2 separate regions of the Homo sapiens genome follow, and region 2 is linked to region 1. The links are contacts of gene promoters, found by promoter capture Hi-C in human tissues and cell types (Jung and others, 2019). All regions are on one chromosome and are shown on one strand. Each heading gives the region's core, a stretch centred on a gene start or on the middle of the fragment in contact. The rest is flanking DNA. Distances are from core to core; before and after follow the strand shown.

What was found. The method cuts DNA at HindIII sites, captures the fragments that hold promoters and counts their contacts. A contact is called where the count stands out against the background at its distance.
Region 2: a contact is called between a fragment that was not itself captured here and the fragment with the promoter of AIRE in region 1, in 3 of the 25 tissues and cell types used here (bladder, mesendoderm cells and spleen).

The regions. Positions count from the first base shown.
Region 1 is chr21:44,284,245-44,287,265 of GRCh38, reverse strand. AIRE (autoimmune regulator) reads right to left here and starts at 1,390. Exons shown (of 14, transcript NM_000383.4): 1 at 1,128-1,390; 2 at 535-709; 3 at 133-288. The coding sequence starts at 1,259. RefSeq lists enhancers at 1,911-2,512, 2,513-3,021. The HindIII fragment of the contact is 44,459 bases long and covers 1-3,021 here.
Region 2 is chr21:44,227,194-44,230,214 of GRCh38, reverse strand. It overlaps ICOSLG (inducible T cell costimulator ligand), which reads left to right. Exons shown (of 7, transcript NM_015259.6): 6 at 126-161; 7 at 1,171-3,021. The coding sequence ends at 1,181. Among named protein-coding and RNA genes, the nearest start is that of ICOSLG, 12 kb to the left of the region's middle. The HindIII fragment of the contact is 5,677 bases long and covers 1-3,021 here.

The DNA of each region.
Region 1 (3,021 bases), core at 141-2,640:
AGACCCCCACAGCCCCAGGCAGGCTGGCCCCACACCCAGTGGGTGGGAGCCCGGGTGGGGAGGGGGCGTGGGCTCCCGGGGAAGCCCGGGAAGACTGGAGACCCTGGCTGGCTTCCCCTGCAGGGAGGGTACCTGGGCTGGCGGTGCCCCTTGGAGTCAGGGCTGCTGGCGCGGCAGCTCGAGCCTCTTCTGAGGCCTTCCTCTTGGTGGGGAGTCTGGGTGGCGGTACCAAAGCCTTGGGGACGGCCGGGGGCTTCCTCCCCTTCCGGGGCTGGCTGAGGTCCACATCTGCAGCTCAGGGGCAGGAGCAGGGTCCCAACCTCAGGGTTTTCTCCAGGGGTAGGGTGGGCCCCAGAACTGGACACCTTGGCCAGACAGGTGAGGCCTGGCCCCTTTGCCTCTTAGGATCCAAGACGGTCCTGGAACATCACCCACGGGCTCCTCAAACACCACTCCGGTTCCAGTCCAGCTGGGCTGAGCAGGTGACAGCAGCTGCCCCAGGCCCCCAGCATGGCTGAGTCCACCAGGACCCACCTTTGGGGAAGCTGTCCAGGATGGGCTGCAGCCGGCCATAGCGCTCCAGGTTGTAGTCCTTGAACAGCACCCTCCAGAAGTCCAGGATGGCTGTGGAGTCCTGGGTCAGCAGCCAGGACAGGAGGGCGTGGAAGGCCTGGGGGCAGCCCTCCTTTTCCTTCAGATGAAGCGTCTCCTGCAGTGGGGTGGCATGAGGGTCCCTGCCATGGTCCCCCACACCCTGCGGCCTGCCCATCTCCATCATGACTAGAGGGTGGAGCTCCCAGGCAGAGGCGCTGGCGACCTGGACAGCTCCACGCCCATCTCCTCGGCTTGTGGTGGAGTCAGGTGGTGGTGTAGGGGTGTTGAGGGTGGGGCTGGGGGAACCTGGAGGCCATTCCCTTGGCTTGGGGGTGAGGTGTGGGGACGGCTGGGGGAAGGGGACCAACTTCTAACTTGTCATCAGGGACGCCCCTGGCTCCTTGTGGGGAGGGAGTTGGGGAAGGCTGGAGGGGCTTGGGGATCTGGAGGGGCGGGGTCCTCCTGGAACTTCCCCGGGGACTATCCCTGGCTCACAGGGCCTGGGGGCAGCGGGGGGCGGGCGGGGAGCCCACCTGAAACTTGTCCTCGGGGACCACGTCGTGGTCAGCCAGCGCGTGCAGCAGTGGGAAGGCGCTGTCCACGGCCACCGCGATCTCCGTGCGGTGCAGCCTCAGAAGCCGGCGTAGCGCCGCGTCCGTCGCCATGGGGTGGGCGCGGGGACCCGGGGCTGGGGCGGACGCGGTGGGTCCCGGGACACTGGCAGCCCCTCGCTTGGCCTCGGGTCCCGGCGGGGCTGTGGGGCCTCCGCGCCGGCTGTGCGCCCGCCCGTCTCCCCGGTCTGCGAGCCACGCGCGCCGCTGTTATACCCCCGCGACCACGCAAAGAGCAAAGGCCGCTCCGCCCCGGCGCCCAATCAGGGCCAGGGCCTCCCGCAGGGACACTTCCCTGTGATGGAGGCGCTGCTGTCCCTCCCTCGCTCTCGGGAAGTCTCCGGGCCTGGCCTGACTCACCCACCAGGGCAGCTGCCTTGGGGGCTGGGGACAGAGACTCGCTCTGTGCGGGACTCAGAGAACTCTCACTTCCGAATGTGGCCCTGTCCTGCCTCGGCGAGGGCCCTGCTCGAATGGGGCAAAGCCGAGACAGGTGCCCTCGGCGGGGAGGCTCGGGTCTCAGGGCCCTGGCAGGGGCTGCCCAGGGTGCACCGGCCCCTCCCAGTGGCCGGCAAGAGCCTCCATGGAGGCTGGATCGGGGTGGTGTTCCTGGGGGACCTCCACACAAGCTGAGAGCCCCTACTCAGGGGCCCGCCTGGGGCTGTGGGAGGAGCCCGATGGAGGCTCAGTCTGATGCAGGAGACGGTACGGCAGCCTGGGTGTTGCCAGGGAGCTCCTGACCTCACCATCTTAGGCTAGCTGTGTGACGCCAGGCAAGTCCTTTCCTTCTCTGAGCCTCGGTTCCCTCATCTTTAAAAGGGGCACACTCGCCTGGGGATTGAGGCTCGCATTGACCCCCTCCTTCCTTCCTCCAGGTGCTTTAGAAGGAAGGCGGCCAGCCCCACAACGGGGGTCCTGAGTGTGGCCCTGAGTGAGAGCTCCCAAAGGGTCTTCCTAGGACCAGTGACAGAGGCTGAGGGATGCTGTGGCCTGGACAGGAGCTTCCGGGGGCATCTGGGAAGGTGTCCGGGAGGGGAGCTGCAGTGGACAGGAGCCGAGGGTCCCAGGTGGACGTGAGTGGGGACAGTGCCCCCAGTAAAACAAGACCAGGTGCAGAGGCCTGGGGCCTGCAATGATGCTGAGGCTGTGGTGGCCCCGCAGGCATGGCCTGGAGGGGGGGTGGCCTCAGTGGGAGGCCTTGGTAACAGTCCCCTTGTCTGTGCGGTCAAGCCAGGGAAGCAGGCCCTGTGTGCAGGCTGCAGAGAACCACGAGAGGTCTCTGGGCACGAGTGTTCCCACTGAGCCAGAGAACGAGATGACCTGGCCAGCATGGATTAGGGCTGAAGGGTGGACGAAGGTACCAGGAAGCCTGAATCCAGGCAGCACTGGGCTGGGGGCTAACTGATGCAGTGAGAGACGCCACCAAGATTCCCACGTGGGCAGGCGTGCCGTTTGCTTTTGGGCAGCCAGAGTCCAGGATGGAGAGCGGCAGACACCTCTCCTCTAGACCAGGGGTCGGTCTCGGTTTCTCCTACCGCCTTCAGGCCCAGGGTCCCCCTGAGCGTTCTGCACGTCTGAGATTGCTCCGGAAAAGACTCTAGGGGTGTTTGGGAACAAACCTGGGGAGGAAGGTGGGGCCAGAGGTGGTGGCCGAGGTGGTCAGCCTGGGGTCAGGTGCTGGGGACGTCATGGGGAGCTGAGGGGGAGGGGGTCCATCTCAGTGGTGGCTGTGGAGTATCAGGCAGTGCAGGGTTGGAACAGGCTGGCTCCTGTGTGGAATGTCCTGGGAGCCTTGAGCGGGGAGCAGGGCCCTCTC
Region 2 (3,021 bases), core at 149-2,648, 57 kb after region 1:
AGCTGGGAGCCTTGGGGAGACTTCCAAGTAGGGTGTTTAGGGGGCTGCTGAGAGCTCAGGAACACCAGGGGCTTTAGGGACACCCCCCATCGCTGCTGCCCTGACCATTTTGGTTTGTCCTCCAGGTGCCTGGGCTGTGAGTCCGGAGACAGAGCTCACTGGTGAGTTTGCCGTGGGAAGCAGCAGGTTCTGGGGGGCCCAGGGGAGGCTTGGCTGCCAGCTGTCTTTCAGAGTTTCAAAAAACTTTCAAAAGGCAAAAGTCCCTTGCCTTGAACAACTGTTGTTCCTGGAGACGCAGCGAAGCCCTCGATGGTGCGCATGGCATTTCCTGCAGCCTCCCCTTGGCATGGGATGGCATCCTGGTGTGCACTTTGTCACACTGCGATGGGATTTTCCCAACATGCACAGAAGCAGAGAGACGAGTGCTAGACCCCCGCGCTCCCCAGTGCCCAGCCCCGACCAGGGTGTCCAGGGCGGGTCCAGGCACCGGCGCCCAGCCCCCATGGGGTGTCCGGAGTGGGTCCAGGCACCGGCGCCCAGCCCCCGTGGGGTGTCCAGGGCGGGTCCAGGCACCGGCGCCCAGCCCCTGTGGGGTGTCCGGAGTGGGTCCGGGCACCGCCAGCTTCTCTCTGTGGCAGCCACTCCTGCAGCTCTCGTTTGCCCCTCAGTTCCAGGAGCAACATAGATGTGGATTCCTGTCCAATTTGGGAAAAATGTCCACACACGGTCACCCACCTGGCAGGTGCCTCTGGCTGCAAGGGGCGCTGGGCTTCGCAGGCAGGCCAGCCGGGCTCCCCGCCATGGGCCAGGATCCCCTCCGAGCCCTGTTTGCCGCCCAGGAGAAGGGGTTCCCCGGGGACAGTGGGCTCAGGGTGTGCGCAGCCACCATGCTGTGGTGTCACCTGTGGACCCAGGCGAGCTGATGGCCGACCGCAGAAACGCACTTCCAAGGCCAGGTCGGCCCATCCAGATGATGCAGGAACACAGCTTGCTAAAAACACGGCCGGCCTGTTCCCGTCGGAGCCAGTCGAAGTTCCCTGAACAGGCCGCTGTTTCCGAAGCTTTAAACCCTGTGTTTCCACCAAGCTGAGTCCTGAGAAAACCGACGTCTGCCTGCAGAAGGGAAAGGGGTGCTTCATGTTCCTCTCTCTCCTTCATCTCCCTTCCAAGGCCACGTTTGACCGGAGCTCACCGCCCAGAGCGTGGACAGGGCTTCCGTGAGACGCCACCGTGAGAGGCCAGGTGGCAGCTTGAGCATGGACTCCCAGACTGCAGGGGAGCACTTGGGGCAGCCCCCAGAAGGACCACTGCTGGATCCCAGGGAGAACCTGCTGGCGTTGGCTGTGATCCTGGAATGAGGCCCTTTCAAAAGCGTCATCCACACCAAAGGCAAATGTCCCCAAGTGAGTGGGCTCCCCGCTGTCACTGCCAGTCACCCACAGGAAGGGACTGGTGATGGGCTGTCTCTACCCGGAGCGTGCGGGATTCAGCACCAGGCTCTTCCCAGTACCCCAGACCCACTGTGGGTCTTCCCGTGGGATGCGGGATCCTGAGACCGAAGGGTGTTTGGTTTAAAAAGAAGACTGGGCGTCCGCTCTTCCAGGACGGCCTCTGTGCTGCTGGGGTCACGCGAGGCTGTTTGCAGGGGACACGGTCACAGGAGCTCTTCTGCCCTGAACGCTCCCAACCTGCCTCCCGCCCGGAAGCCACAGGACCCACTCATGTGTGTGCCCACAAGTGTAGTTAGCCGTCCACACCGAGGAGCCCCCGGAAGTCCCCACTGGGCTTCAGTGTCCTCTGCCACATTCCCTGGGAGGAACAATGTCCCTCGGCTGTTCCGGTGAAAAGTTGAGCCACCTTTGGAAGACGCACGGGTGGAGTTTGCCAGAAGAAAGGCTGTGCCAGGGCCGTGTTTGGCTACAGGGGCTGCCGGGGCTCTTGGCTCTGCAGCGAGAAAGACACAGCCCAGCAGGGCTGGAGACGCCCATGTCCAGCAGGCGCAGGCCTGGCAACACGGTCCCCAGAGTCCTGAGCAGCAGTTAGGTGCATGGAGAGGGTATCACCTGGTGGCCACAGTCCCCCTTCTCACCTCAGCAATGATCCCCAAAGTGAGAGGTGGCTCCCCCGGCCCCCACCACCCTCAGCAGCCCCACCCCACTCAACCCTGAGGGTCCCCAGGGTCCTGATGAAGACCTCCGACCCCAGCGCCAGGCTCCTCGGAGCCCAACAGTCCCAAGGGGGCAGGAGACGGGGTGGTCCAGTGCTGAGGGGTACAGCCCTGGGCCCTGACCAGCCCCGGCACCTGCCATGCTGGTTCCCGGAATGAATCAGCTGCTGACTGTCTCCAGAAGGGCTGGAAAGGATGCTGCCAGGTGACCCGAGGTGCACTCGCCCCAGGGAGATGGAGTAGACAGCCTGGCCTGGCCCTCGGGACACATTGTCTGCCCCGGGGCTATGGGCAAATGCCCCTCCTTCTTACTTCCCAGAATCCCCTGACATTCCCAGGGTCAGCCAGGACCTGTTACAGCCCTGGTCACTTGGAACTGACAGCTGTGTGAGGCCTGCACTTCTCAGACCCAGACTTAGAACAAAAGGAGGAGTGAGGACTCAAGGCTACAATGAGGTTCCAGTACTTGTTACAAGAAATTGGTTTTCTGCAAAAAAAGTCCCTACCTGAGCCTTTAGGTGAATGTGGGATCCACTCCCGCTTTTAACATGAAAGCATTAGAAGATGTGTGGTGTTTATAAAAGAACAGTTGTCATCACCGGGCATTGATTGGCAGGGACAAGGAGCTGCTTGGGTGTGGAAAGTTGGGGCGTTGGAAAGTGGGCTGTGGTGCCCATTTGCAGTGACTGTGAAGTGACTCCAGGACGGACCTGCGGGGGCACCCAGAGGTCCTAAGCCCCAGGACTGAGGGTCGTGCATCACCACTCGGGTGTCCCGGGAGGTGCCCTGGGCCCGGGGACCTCACAGGCAGGACGGCGACACTAATGCAGGGAGAGGGAGTCTGGCCCCAGCTT